Regions from separate parts of the Homo sapiens genome. Here region 2 is linked to region 1. The links are contacts of gene promoters, found by promoter capture Hi-C in human tissues and cell types (Jung and others, 2019). All regions are on one chromosome and are shown on one strand. The core of a region is centred on a gene start or on the middle of the fragment in contact, and the rest is flanking DNA. Distances in the headings are between cores, read along the strand shown.

Region 1 (7,077 bases), core at 2,103-4,602:
GCATGGGCCCAAATGACTTGACAGTTTCTTTTAATTTACAGACATCTAAGAATGTTTATAAAATTCCTCTAGTTCAAAACACTTCCTTTTCTTAAACATATTTCCAGTTCAAATTATGTGTTTATAGCAGTCTGCAATATATTATTTCTAAAGATAAACAGTCATGTACAAAATGGACAGAAAACCAGCAGCATATCACTACTGCCACACTCAGTCAGATTTTCCCCTTGCCTGGTGCTCCGCAGCCAAAGTCCTAACCTGCCAGTGGAAAGTATGAATGGATCACTAGGAACAGGCTTTCCCAGCTGCCTCCAGGATCCATAAAGGAACAGCTACCAGTTCCTTTTCATAGGCAGTTTTGAGCCTTAGTTCCTGAGAACCTCTTTTTTACCCCCAGAGCTAAGTATAAAACTTAAGAATTCACTAACTGTAGGCAGTTTTCCTTTCTTCCTTTAAAGGGAGACTTTAAACCCAAATCACTACTTCTAAATCCCAGGAAACAGTTGCAGTTTTCAAATTAAAATGCAAAGTCCTGGAAATAATATTCTGTAATTGCTAATTTTTTTTTAAATTCAGTCTTTTGACTTCATTTATATTTTTGCTGCTATACATGAAACAAACGGAGACTGAAAAGTAATTTAAATGGACTGTTAGCCATTCTGGGCCTTGAAACAGCTTCTATTTAGAAAGACTGACTCACTGCCTAACAAAGATTCTCTGCTAGTCTCTAAGTTGACATTTTATAAATATCTAATCACCCTTTTTGGATGATTTTCCAATTACTGAAAACAGTGTCTATCACAATGAAGCAGTTCACTCGGAAAGCATCCAGTTCTGGTTCAAATTGAGAAATATTAGAACCCCAAAGATACACAGTTCAGGGGAAAGCTGTCACCGGGGAGGACAGGTATATAGTTCGGCCAAAAAACTTCCTTAAGGAGCACTGGTAGATTTATGCAAAAACCCAGAGGAGCAGAAGACAGAAACATTCTTTCTCCAGAATCCCAAAACAGTAACATTTCCTAGCAAATCCATGAATAAGACTCAGCAAAAAAAAAGGGCCTCCTTAACCATGTGCAGTTTTTTAGGCAGGCTCTTGAAATTTATTAGATGAAGTCCCTTTGCCCTGTTTTGCAACAAGAGGAGCAACAACGCTCATCTGAAATAAACAAGAGAACTGCTGCCTTTTGGTGTACAAAGAGCCAAAGTTCATCCTAACTGGCTGGGAGATAACTAATACCAACGGATTAAACCATCATTTGCCAAAGGGAAACACTGATAAGGCTGGGAGTTCTATTTTACAACCTGAGCACCCAAAATACTCATGTAGTCTGTACAGTTTCCAATTCTACATGCTCTCCAACCACAAAGAACGTATGGGGATCTGCTAGCACACACAGAGGCTCCCACACTGATTAAAAATGTCCATCTGCCGCTCGATGCCAAAGAGGTTTCCCAGTCCTAAATTAGCCTCAGCACAAAAAAGGGGGGGAGGGAGACTCAAACTCATAAAACTACCTAAAAGACCTTAAGATGATATAATTTGTCTTTGAAAAGACCATTCAATTAATTAGAAATTGACACGTTATTAAATGGCAAAGGGAGAGGACGTGGGGAACCAGAAGGGCCAGAAACAGCCGCACTCCCTGAGACCCCAGAGGGCACTGAGGCTGCAGACGAAATCTGGGGTGCTCAAGCTTCCACCTGGCCCGACAGAGCTCCTGGCGCCCAGGTGGAGGCAGCTGCGGACGAGAGGAGGCCAAGGAGGCAGTTCCCTTTAGAGGGCGCTCATTGGGCGACGTGGGGAAACAAGCTCCAGCCCCCGAAGCGCGACCAAAAGGAGAAATCAAGTTCCCACCGCCAGGGCGGGGGAGGGAAGCTGGGTGCCGGCAGGCGCTCCGCCGGAGACGAGACTCCTCCCGGCCCCAGAAGCGCCCCGCCAGGGCCAGAGAGGGCGAGCGTGGCGGGAGGGAAGCCTCTGTCCCCCAGCGGCCAGGCGACCCGAAGCCGAGCGCCGTGTCACACGTACCCCGCCTCGCCCTGCTTGCGGCACTCCCGTGTAACTCCTATGAAAATGTCCTCCCGTCCCTGACGCCCCGCGGTGCAACCTCCACCCCTCAACGAGGAGGGGGTCGCCGCAGGACTGGGAATCCAGTGGCCGGCGTCCCAGCATTTTCGGACGCGTTCCGTGCCTCCCCCAGTATCCCCTTGAGGGATCGCCTACTGCGATTCCACGTAGTGTCGGTTACCTCGCCCTAGCCGCAGGGAGCATCAAACAAAAGAACTTTTGCAAACTTTTCTCTCTGGACACTCGCGGGTCTCTTAAATCTGGCCCCCATCTCCCCAGAACTTGCATGCAGTCAAACAGGAAAGCTGGCGCGGGGGGGATGGTGTGCGGAGGAAGGGACCCCGAAGTTTCCAGGTCATCCCTGGTCTCGAGGAGCGCGCGGAGTGGAGCCGTTCCCTCGCGGGCCCGACCCAGGCTCCCCCCTCCTGCCACCCTTTCCCCTCCGTCCTTCCCAGACCACGCAGCAAGACCCGCCGAGGGCGAAGAAGTTGGGAGTGACTTCAGGGGCCTCTGCGGCTAGACCAAACCGCAATTCTCGGTGCCCCCATTCCCGCGGACCGCGGGGTAACGCCAGCGAGCAGCGCTTTTCTGAGGAAGGGAAGAGGGGGAAAGGGTGACCGGACGAGCGCATTTGTCCCAGCGGATCTCCGGTGTATACTTGGGGACTGGGGGTTCCCCAGGTGGCGCTCCCCTATTCCCTGCGGGCTCCTCTCGTAGCTTCAAACACCCTAAACGGCGCGCGCATCCTCCGCCTGGCCCACTCACCGACTCCGCCGACACGCAGGCCACCAAGCCCAAGGTGAGCAGGATCCACGCGCGCCGCATATTCCCCAGGGACCGGCTGCTCCCAGCCGCTGCTTGCAACCAGGGCAAAACGAAGCCTCCTGCCCAGCGCTCGGCGCAGCCCGCGCACACGAATCCGGAGCAGAGTACCGCAGCGATTGCGGCTCAGGCTCGGGGACTCGGGCTCGGGGCTCGGGGGCGCTCGCTTCCTCCTCCTGCGCCTGCTCCCGCCGCCCGCAGCTGCGCCCCGGGAACGCGGCGCCCTCTCACTTGTTGGTTTCTGCACTCCCGACACGGAGTTGGTGCTCCGGGAAGGCTGCTCTCTGAAGCTCTTCTTGCTCTGCTGTGGTTTTGCTCCTCCGCGGACTCCTTTCCCGTGCCGAGGTTCAGTTTCTGGTTTTAAGGAATAAATTCGCTGGCTTGAAAGGGAGCTACGGCAGAAGTTTAGGGGCAGAGCGGCGGGAGCGCGCGATCCGCGCGGCTGGAGCTCCGGGGGTATCTGGAGAGCAGCGCGTCCAAGCGGGGCCACTGGCTCCGCGGCTGCGCCCCTCCTCCTCCCGCGCCGCGCCTCCCTCCCCGGGTCCTCCTCCTTCTCCTCCTCTTCTTTTCCTCTGGCTCCCTCCCTCCTGAGCCTGCTTCTCCGGGCTCCCCTGGGCGACTGGGGAGAGGAGGCGGCAGTGTGACTCCCAGATAAACCCGGGAGAAATTCCTACAGGATTACACGCCGATTGGCAGCTCCGAGGACCAGTGGGCGCCGCGGCTCCGCGCTGTGGCTGCGCCGGCTCTGCTCACCGGCAAGCCAGGGCTCCTGCGTTTTCTCAGTCCTTTTCTTCCTTTCTCTCCCCACTTTTCCTCTCTCCTCTATGCTCTTTTCTTCCCCGTTGTCTTTTCTCTTTCCCTTCTTCACTTTCCCTTTTCTAGAGAACAATTAGTGAAGAAACGAGAGACGTATGTAGCTTTTCTGCCTTGAGAATTCGACCAGTAGAAAGAAACTGCTTTGTGAGTTGAGGGAAAAAAAAAGTGTAAGATGCTTTCAAGCAATGTGAAGTGTTCATAAATCGCCAGTTCATGAAAATTGCATTTTAAAAGAGAAGATAATTAATGTAATAAATATATAGTGAGAGTGTTTCCCATTCTCCCAAATCCTTCCGCACCCCCAAAAAAGGGACATGGAGGAAGGATCCTGTAAACCCAAAGTGCAACAGTTTGAAAGCTCCTAACTTCATTAAGGGCTTAAATACCATTTCTCCCTCACACACAGTTTATGCCACTAAGGCTTTTTATAGGCTCCATTTTAGCAGATAGGTGTTAACGTTTGGAAGCTACAAATAGGGTAATTTGATGAGAAGTTGGATAGAGACCCTGAATAATAACAGATTTAAGATAACTTCAAAGAAAAGAGGGATAAAGTAATTCTTAGTTTGAAGAAAATAATGAACATGTATTTCCTAAATGGAAGTAGCTGACATGAAATATTTTGTTACAATGTCTGTGGCATATTATAGAACATGGCAAATGCGTATTCCCTTCCAGTTTCTTTTTCTTACTGTCACAAATTTTACACACAAATCCCTTGCAGTTCGTGCCATCATTTTTCTCTCTGACTTATAGAGTAAATGAATTATGACGCCATTCTGCTCCTGGAATGCCCACTACAGGAAACCAGAGACTTTTCTGTCTGTTCACCATTGTATTCTCATTCCTGGTACATAAAGACACATGATAAATATTATCTTGAATAAATTTTGCTCTAAAGCTCAATTTATACCGTATAAGAGTTGTGAGCCTTTAAAATACACCAATGTAGATATATAGATATGAGGCCATGGTAATTTTTCAACTCAGTATTAGAATAAAATACAGTCATACCCTCAGTGAGAATTAAATGTCTTAGTAACCTATTACTGTAATAAATCTCAAAGAAAGAAATTTAACTGGAGAATTACAACTCAAACTTGGAGACACTTATTCCTTTGGTTTTGTGTGCCAGCTACCAAACCTACAAATGCTCATGAGCAAGTCTAAGGCATTGGCCAACAAAAAGGTAATATGGAGAAATAGAAGAGTAGGCAAAGGAGAAAGAAGAAAAAGAGCAATAGGCCAGAAGTTGTAACATCAGATGATGCTTCTGATTCCACAGACACTGTAGCTGGCATCTGTGCCAATGTGGGCTCCACTTAGCTTTTGAAAGAATGAACCACAGCCTTTTTTTTTTTTTTTTTTTTTTTTGAGACAGGGTCTCATTCTTGCCCAGGCTGGAGTGCAGTGGCCTGCACTGTAGCCTCTACCTCTCAGGCTCAAGCAGTCCTCCCACCTCAGCTTACCAAGTAGCTGGGACTACAGGCACAGGCCACCACACCAGCTAATTTTTGTGTTTTTTATAGAGACAGGGTTTTCCATTGTTGCCCAGGCTGGTCTCAAACTCTTGGGCTCAAGTGATCTGCCTGCCTCAGCCTCCCAAAGTCCTGGGATTAGACACGTGAGCCACCAGCCTAGTGCCCTTATTTTTAAGATGGAGTCTGTGGGTTGAAGAGGTTCATGAGATGGGGAGACTTCTTAAAAAGGCCTCCAAAGGAAAAGCAGCAATGCAAAATACATGCAAAGAGCCATAAAATACCAGCTCTGTCCTCATAAGAGGCCTCGTCTACTCGCCAGCCTTCAGGCAAGGCCACACCTCCATTGTCCCCAACAGTTAAGTATTCATCAAATAAATTGGAATTCCAGTAAAACAGGAAGTGCACTCCACTGATTTGCTGGTTCTCACAGTTATTGCTGTTTACTGGGGCACCCATGTAACAAGAAGCGTGGTGAATGCTCTCTGATTCAGCTTGGGCAGACAGTGATAAAAAATGAATAAGTGGATACACGTGTTGAAGGGATATTATCTGTTTGCTGCCCTGAAGGCACACCCCAAGGCTCTTGGTGTTGATGAGATGCTCAGTGACTTGTTTCTTTAAAGATGATAAATACTCCATTGAGAGTATATATAATAAGGGAATTGGTACCATTTTGAGTGACACAATATTAAGGAGATGAAAACAAATATTCAAGATCTTGTGTTCAGATTTATTAACAGCTGTGGCAAGAAGGATAATCTGACAGTATAAAAAGCACTTACACAAGAGCTGGCTACAAAGAGGTCACCCATGCTGAGTGGGGATGGGGACAGAAGTCAGGGGAGGTCCGCTGGTATTAGTCAGGATTTGTCTAAATTCGCAAACGATGTAGGCCTGTTTGTGTGTTTTGCTAATTGGAAATGTTTAAAAAACTGATGGGGACTAAAATTTGGCAGAATTTTGTGTAGTATATCTAATTCACTAAGTATAGCTTGTGACTAGAACCAAAGGTTCTTTGCAAATATACTTCAAGTCCTCAGGTTTTGAGGGCTATGCTTTGAGGGGCACAGCTTAACCAATCACTTCCCAAATAGCTTCATTGATTGCTAAAAGAATAATTACCACACTTCAAGAGTCTCAGGAGAAAATATTAAAAATAAACAACATAGAGATTAAGATGCAAACATGTAAAAACAAATAAAAAATAAAGAGAACCAGACAAGTGAAAAAATAGAAATGAAAGCTACTAAAGACAGTTTTTAACCTAAACTGACACATCGGACTCTGTCACTACGGTAACAAATGATACCACATTACAACCGTGGATAAACAGGTGTTCTGTCCTGAGGTGAGTTGTCAGAGTAGGGGATAGCGGAAAAAAAAGATGCCATTCTGTTGTTCTCGGTTGTTCTTCCACTTGGCACCCCCTGGACTGTTACCAGGAGTCCAGGCTAGAAATCAATTTGGTAGGATTGGCTCTTATGAAATTCACTTGAAAGATGATAGAAGCTGAGAGGAATAGGATATCCATCCAGCCAACCATTAATGAGCCATCGCTAATACTGGCAAGTGAGCTGAGGCCATGACCAAAATCTACAGGCAATCCAAAAAAATCTATTTTCAGGCCTGGCGCGGTGGCTCACACCTGTAATCCTAGCACTTTGGGAGGCCGAGGCAGGCAGATTGCCTGAGCTCAGAAGTTCAAGACCAGCCTGGGCAACACGGTGAAACCCCGTCTTTACTAAGAACAACACAACAAAAATTAGCCAGGTGTGATGGCGGGCACCTGTAGTCGCAGCTACTTGGGAGGCTGAGGCAGGAGAATTGCTTGAACCCGGGAGGTAGAAGTTGCAGTGAGCCGAGATCATGCCACCGTACTCCAGCCTGGGC
Region 2 (7,077 bases), core at 2,439-4,938, 1.0 Mb before region 1:
AACTGTGAGATGGAAAAAGCAGTTCATTCTTCGGCTTAACGCCACAGCTTCTTTCTCATCACTTCCCTCTGTCCATCCCCAAGGAACTCCTTGTAGCTCCCTGAACTTGCCTGCTTCTCTTTGGCTTCTAGGCCTTTCTGTAGGCTGTTTACTGTGCTTGTACCTTCCCCATACAACACCTGTCCCCACCCCTATTAACGTGGCTTATGTAGGCTTGCCCCTGAAGTTTCATGTTTACCGTTGCTTCCTCCTGTAAACCTGTATAAGGCCTCTCCTCTGAGCTATCATAGCACACTGTACCTGCTTCTATGTAGCCTTCTTACACAGGATTGAAATTTATTTAGTTACCTCTCTTTGTTACTAGATTGTAAGCATCCAGGACTGTGCCCTGCTCAACACCGAGCAGGTGCCTAATAAACATTTGTTGTATAATTGAAGGTGAGAATAAAATAACACTCCACTAAAACTATAGTAAACACATATTCCATGATTTTTTTGAGGTTAGCTGACACATTAGTCCCATTCAAGAAGATATTCAAAATATTTATTACTCCTGAACTAGATCATCAATCAAAATGGACCCTGACCCAGTGTTGCTAGATTAAGGAGCTAGAGGCTCCTTCTGTGCCAGATGCTAACTCTTTACCAGTTGCTGGATCATGGGGAGGTAGGGGTCTAGGGAGGGGCCTGATGTCCGGGGCCAGGTATGCTGGAAACAGATATTGGTACTGTAAACAGACAGTACCAGTTAGTAAATATTTCAATATTTTCACACAACCATAATCATCCAGATACATTTGGGCCACATTTTAGCCCTGGTCAAGTTCATTTTCTCAATAAAATGAATGCTGTGGAGTTTACAGCAGGATGAGAAAGGTTGCATTTTAAATAGCCTCAATTTCCCCCAGTGGAATGATCTATGTAATCTTATCAGATATGTTTATTCATGGGGAAGTCTCTTTATGCAGGTTTCATAGCAGGGCAGAGAAACATTGATTTTGTCTAAAACTCTGCTGAATGCCAGGCTGATGGGACTGATTGTGGACCACGCTGGACCTCTGTCCCTGTAGTGGTATTTAGTAAGCCCTCATGCAGAATGGATGGGGAAGCTGTGGTGGAAACAGTGGCAGCCATGTAGTGTTGGGGGCTGAATGCCCCCTGGAGCTTTCTAAAGGACACTGACCCTTAAATCACAGAGTTTTAAAACAAACAAACCAACAAACAAAGAAATGAACAGCCTCTGAACTGATTTTTTTTTCAGATCCTGAAAATGCCAGAGTAAAGTGTGAATTCTTAAGAAATGAAATCCCTTGGATATGTTTGAAATCTTTTTGTGTTTTCTAACACTTTAAAATTTGGCTTCATTTAACGTAGCCATAGGGAGATAGCTGGTATAGATCTGTGGGCCTGTTTTGCTCAAGCATTGAATATAGAAAGGTGTTTAACTACAACTTGGATGCTAATAAGTGCAAATCTCAGTAACTCTGCCATGTTCCCCAGTGAAACTCTGATCTAAAAGAATTATACAAGGTTGTACTTTCTCTCTAAGCATGAAGGATTTCCCATGGAAAAAGAGTTCAGAAAGTGCAGGTTTGTGTTGTAAAGGCTGTTTTCTACCCATTTTAATATATGCTTTGAACAGGCAAGGGTATTAGAAGAAGACGAAAATGTAAGATCCAAGTTATGTACTGAAAGATCCTGGGGAATGACTTGTAAAGTATAATAGGATATAAGATAATAAGAGATTGCATCAGCACCAAGAGAATGCTGTTCTCGATTAAGAGCTCAAATCAAATGGCCAGGACAACTGAAATGACTCAGTGAAAATAGAATCCCCAGAAGAATCTTTCAAAATAAGACAAGACAGAAGCCCAAAAGCATATCCAGAAATTGCTAAAGTCACCCAGTAAAGAAAGGTCACAAAGAATAAAAGGACATGGAATGTCAAAAAAAGGGGGAGAATAGAAAGTGGTATCTCATTAAAACATGGTGTGAAAAACTGTACTATTGTATTTTTCTTACTTATCCAAATAAAATAACCTCATGGACAGGCCAAGATTTATGCTCAAGTGTTCATCACATTGTTATTTATCATAACTCAAACGTGGAAACAATCTTTTTTTAAAATTGTACTTTAAGTTCTGGGATACATGTGCAGAACGTGCGGGTTTGTTACATGGGTATACACGTGCCATGGTGGTTTGCTGCACCCATCAACCCGTCATCTATATTAGGTATTTCTCCTAATGCTATCACTCCACTTTCCCCCCACTTCCCAACAGGCCCCGGTGTGTGATGTTCCCCTCCCTGTGCCCATATGTTCTCATTGTTCAACTCCCAGTTATGAGTGAGAACATGTGGTGTTTGGTTTTCTGTTCCTGTGTTAGTTTGCTGAGAATGATGGTTTCCAGCTTCATCCATGTCCCTGCAAAGGACATGGACTCATTGTTTTTTATGGCTGCACAGTTTTCCATGGTGTATATGTGCCACATTTTCTTAATCCAGTCTAACATTCATGGGCATTTGGGTTGGTTCCAAGTCTTTTCTATTGTGAATAGTGCTGCAATAAACATACGTATGCATGTGTCTTTACAACAGAATGATTTATAATCCTTTGGGTGTATACCCAGTAATGGGATTGCTGGGTCAAATGGTATTTCTAGCTCCAGATCGTTGAGGAATCGCCACACTGTCTTCCACAATGGTTGAACTAATTTACACTCCCACCAACAGTGTAAAAGTGTTCCTATTTCTCCACATCCTCTCCAGCATCTGTTGTTTCCTGACTTTTTAATGATCGCCATTCTAACTGGCGTGAGATGGTATCTCATTGTGGTTTTGATTTGCATTTCTCTAATGACCAGTGATGATGAGCTTTTTTTCATATGTTTGTTGGCTGTGTAAATGTGTTCTTTTGAGAAGTGTCTGTTCATATCCTTTGCCCACTTTTTGATAGGGTTGTTTGGTTTTTTTCGTGTAAATTTGTTTAAGTTCTTTGTAGCTTCTGGATATTAGCCCTTTGTCAGATGGATAGATTGCAAAAATGTTCTCCCACTCTGTAGGTTGCCTGTTCACTCTGACGATAGTTTCTTTTGCTGTGCAGAAGCTCTTTAGTTTAATTAGATCCCATTTGTCAATTTTGGCTTTTGTTGCAGTTGCTTTTGGTGTTTTAGTCATGAAGCTTTGCCCATGCCTATGTCCTGAATGGTATTGCCTAGGTTTTCTTCTAGGGTTTTTATGGTTTTAGGTCTTATGTTTAAATCTTTAATCCATCTTGAACTAATTTTTGTATATGGTGTAAGGAAGAGGTTCAGTTTCAGTTTTCTGCATATGGCTAGCCAGTTTTCCCAACATCATTTATTAAATAGGGAATCCTTTCCCCATTTCTTGTTTTTGTCATGTTTGTCAAAGATCAGATGGTTGTAGATGTGTGGTGTTATTTCTGAGGGCTCTGTTCTGTTCCATTAGTCTATATATCTGTTTTGGTACCAGTACTAGGGTGTTTTGGTTACTGTATCCTTGTAGTATAGTTTGAAGTCAGGTAGTGTGATGCCTCCAGCTTTGTTCTTTTTGCTTAGGATTATCTTGGCTATGTGGGCTCTTTTTTTTGTTCCATATGAAATTTAAAGTAGTTTTTTCTAATTCTGTGAAGAAAGTCAATGGTAGCTTGATGGGAATAACATTGAATCTGTAAGTTACTTTGGGCAGTATGGCCATTTTCACTATATTGATGCTTCCTATCCATGAGCATGGAATGTTTTTCCATTTTTTTGTGTCCTCTCTTATTTCCTTGAGCAGTGGTTTGTAGTTCTGCCTGAAGAGGTCCTTCACCTGCCTTGTAAGTTGTATTCCTAGGTATTTTATTCTTTTTGTAGCAATTGTGATTGGGAGTTTGCTCATGATTTGGCTCTTTCTTTGTCTATTATTGGTGTATGGAATGCTTGTGATTTTTGCACATTGATTTGTAGCCAGAGACTTCACTGAAGTTGCTTGTCAGCTTAAGGAGTTTTTGGGCTGAGATGATGGGCTTTTCTTTTCTTTTCTTTTCTTTTTTTTTGAGACAGAATCTTGCACTGTCGCCTGGGCTGGAGTGTAATGGTGCGATCTCGGCTCACTGCAACTTCTGCTTCCTGGGTTCAAGCAATTCTCCTGCCTCAGCCTCCCAGGTAGCTGGGACTACTGGTGCCTGCCACCATGCCCAGCTAATTTTTTGTATCTTAGTAGAGATGAGGTTTTTTTTGTATCTTAGTAGAGATGAGGTTTCACTATGTAGGCCAGGCTGGTCTCGAATTCCTGACCTCGTGATCTGCCTGCCTCGGCCTCCCAAAGTGCTGGGATTACAGGTGAGAGCCACTGTGCCCAGCCTGATGATGGGGTTTTCTAAATATACAATCATGTCATCTACGAACAGAGATAATTTGGCTTCCTCTCTTCCTATTTGAATACGCTTTATTTCTTTCTCTTGCCTGGTTGCCCTGGCCAGAACTTCTAATACTATGTTGAATAGGAGTGGTGAGAGAGGGCATCCTTGTCTTGTGCTGGTTTTCAAAGGGAGTGCTTCCAGCTTTTGCCCATTCAGTATGATATTGGCTCTGGGTTTGTCATAAGTAGCTCTTATTATTTTGAGATATGTTCCATCAATGCCTAGTTTATTGAGTGTTTTTAGAATGAAGGGCTGTTGAATTTTGTCAATACCTAGTTTATTGAGTGTTTTTAGCATGAAAGGGTGTAGAATTTTATCAAAGGCCTTTTCTGCATCTATTGAGATAATCATGTGTTTTTTGTCATTGGTTCTGTTTATGTGATGGATTATGTTTATTGATTTGTGTATGTTGAACCAGCCTTGCATCCCAGGGATGAAGCCAACTTGATCATGGTGGATAAGCTTTTTGATGTGCTGCTGGATTCAGTTTGCCAGTATTTTATTGAGGGTTTTTGCATCGATGTTCTTCAGGGATATTGGCCTGAAATTTTCTCTTTTTCTTGTGTCTCTGCCAGGTTTTGGTATCAGGATGATGCTGGCCTCATAAAATGAGTTAGGGAGGAATCCCTCTTTCTCTATTGTTTGGAATAGTTTCAGAAGGAATGGTACCAGCTCCTCTTTGTACCTATAGTAGAATTCAGCTGTGAATCTGTCTGGTCCTGGACTTTTTTTGGTTGGTAGGCTATTAATTATACTGCCTCAATTTCAGAACTTGTTATTTGTCAGTTCACGGATTTAACTTCTTCCTGGTTTAGTCTTGGGAAGCTGTATGTGTCCAGGAATTTATCCATTTCTTCTAGATTTTCTAGTTTATTTGCATAGAGGAGTTTATAGTATTCTCTGACAGTAGTTTGTATTTATGTGGGATCAGTGGTAATCTCCCATTTATCATTTTTTATTGTGTCTATTTGATTCTTCTCTCTTTTCTTCTTTATTAGTCTGGCTAGCGGTCTATTTTGTTAATCTTTTCAAAAAACGAGCTCCTGGAATCACTGATTTTTTTGAAGGACTTTTTGTGTCTCTGTCTCCTTCAGTTCTGCTGTGATCTTAGTTATTTCTTGTCTTCTGCTAGCTTTTGAATTTGTTTGCTCTTGCTTCTCTAGTTCTTTTAATTATGATGTTAGGGTGTCGATTTTAGATCTTTCCCATTTTCTCCTGTGGGCATTTAGTGCTGTAAATTTCCCTCTAAACACTGCTTTAGCTGTGTCCCAGAGATTCTGGTACATTGTGCCTTTGTTCTCATTGGTTTCAAAGAACTTATTTATTTTTGCCTTAATTTCGTTATTTACCCAGTAGTCATTCAGGAGCAGGTTGTTCAGTTTCCATGTAGTTGTGCAGTTTTGAGTGAGTTTCTTAATCCTGAGTTCTAATTTGATTGCACTGTGGTCTGAGAGACTGTTATGATTTCCATTCTTTTGCATTTGCTGAGGAGTGTTTTACTTCCAATTATATGATTGATTTTAGAATAAGTGCTATGTGGTGCTGAGAATGTATATTCTGCTATTGATTTGGGGTGGAGAGTTCTGTAGATGTCTATTAGGTCCGCTTGATCCAGAGCTGAGTTCAAGTCCTGAATATCCTTGTTAATTTTCTGTCTCGTTGATCTGTCTAATATTGACAGTGGGTTGTTAAAGTCTCCCATTATTATTGTGTGGAAGTCTAAGTCTCTTTGTAGGTCTCTAAGAACTTGCTTTATGAATCTGGGTGCTCCCGTATTGGGTGCATATATATTTAGGATAGTTAGCTCTTCTTGTTGCATTGATCCCTTTACCATTATGTAATGTCCTTCTTTGTCTTTTTTAATCTTTGTTGGTTTAAAGTCTGTTTTCTCAGAGACTAGGAATGTAACCCCTGCTTTTTTTTTTTTACTTTCCATTTGCTTGGTAAATCTTCCTCCATCCCTTTATTTTGAGCCTATGTGTGTCTTTGCATATAAGATGGGTCTCCTGAATACAGCACACCGATAGGTCTTGATTCTATCCAATTTGCCAGTCTGTGTCTTTTAATTGGAGCATTTAGCCCATTTACATTTAAGGTTAATATTGTTATGTGTGAGTTTGATCCTGTCATTATGATGCTAGCTGGTTATTTTTTCCAGTAGTTGATGCAGTTTCTTCATAGTTGTCAGTGGTCTTTAACTTTTGGTTTGTTTTTGCAGTGGCAGGTACTGGTTTTTCCTTTCCACGTGCTTCCTTCAGGAGCTCTTGTAAGGCAGGTGGTGGTATCAGAATCCCTCAGCATTTGCTTGTCTGTAAAGGATTTTACTTCTCCTTCACTTATGAAGCTTAGTTTGGCTGGATATGAAGTTCTGGGCTGAAAATTCTTTTCTTTAAGAATGTTGAATATTGACCCCCACTCTCTTCTTGCTTGTAGGGTTTCTGCAGAGAGATCTGCTGTTAGTCTGATGGGCTTTCCTTTGTGAGTATCCTGACCTTTCTCTCTGGCTGCCTGTAACATTTTTTCTTTCATTTTAACCTTGGTGAATTTGTCAATTATGTGTCTTGGGGTTGCTCTTCTCGAGGAGTATCTTTGTGGCATTCTCTGTTATTTCCTGAATTTGAATGTTGGCCTGTCTTGCTAACTTGGGGAAGTTC

The links. The method cuts DNA at HindIII sites, captures the fragments that hold promoters and counts their contacts. A contact is called where the count stands out against the background at its distance.
Region 2: a contact is called between a fragment that was not itself captured here and the fragment with the promoter of SDC2 in region 1, in 1 of the 25 tissues and cell types used here (dorsolateral prefrontal cortex).

Annotation. Positions count from the first base shown.
Region 1 is chr8:96,490,088-96,497,164 of GRCh38, reverse strand. It overlaps SDC2 (syndecan 2), which reads right to left and starts at 3,352. Exons shown (of 5, transcript NM_002998.4): 1 at 2,834-3,352. The coding sequence starts at 2,893. The HindIII fragment of the contact is 18,592 bases long and covers 1-7,077 here.
Region 2 is chr8:97,531,773-97,538,849 of GRCh38, reverse strand. No RefSeq gene overlaps it. Among named protein-coding and RNA genes, the nearest start is that of MTDH, 110 kb to the left of the region's middle. The HindIII fragment of the contact is 4,277 bases long and covers 1,550-5,826 here.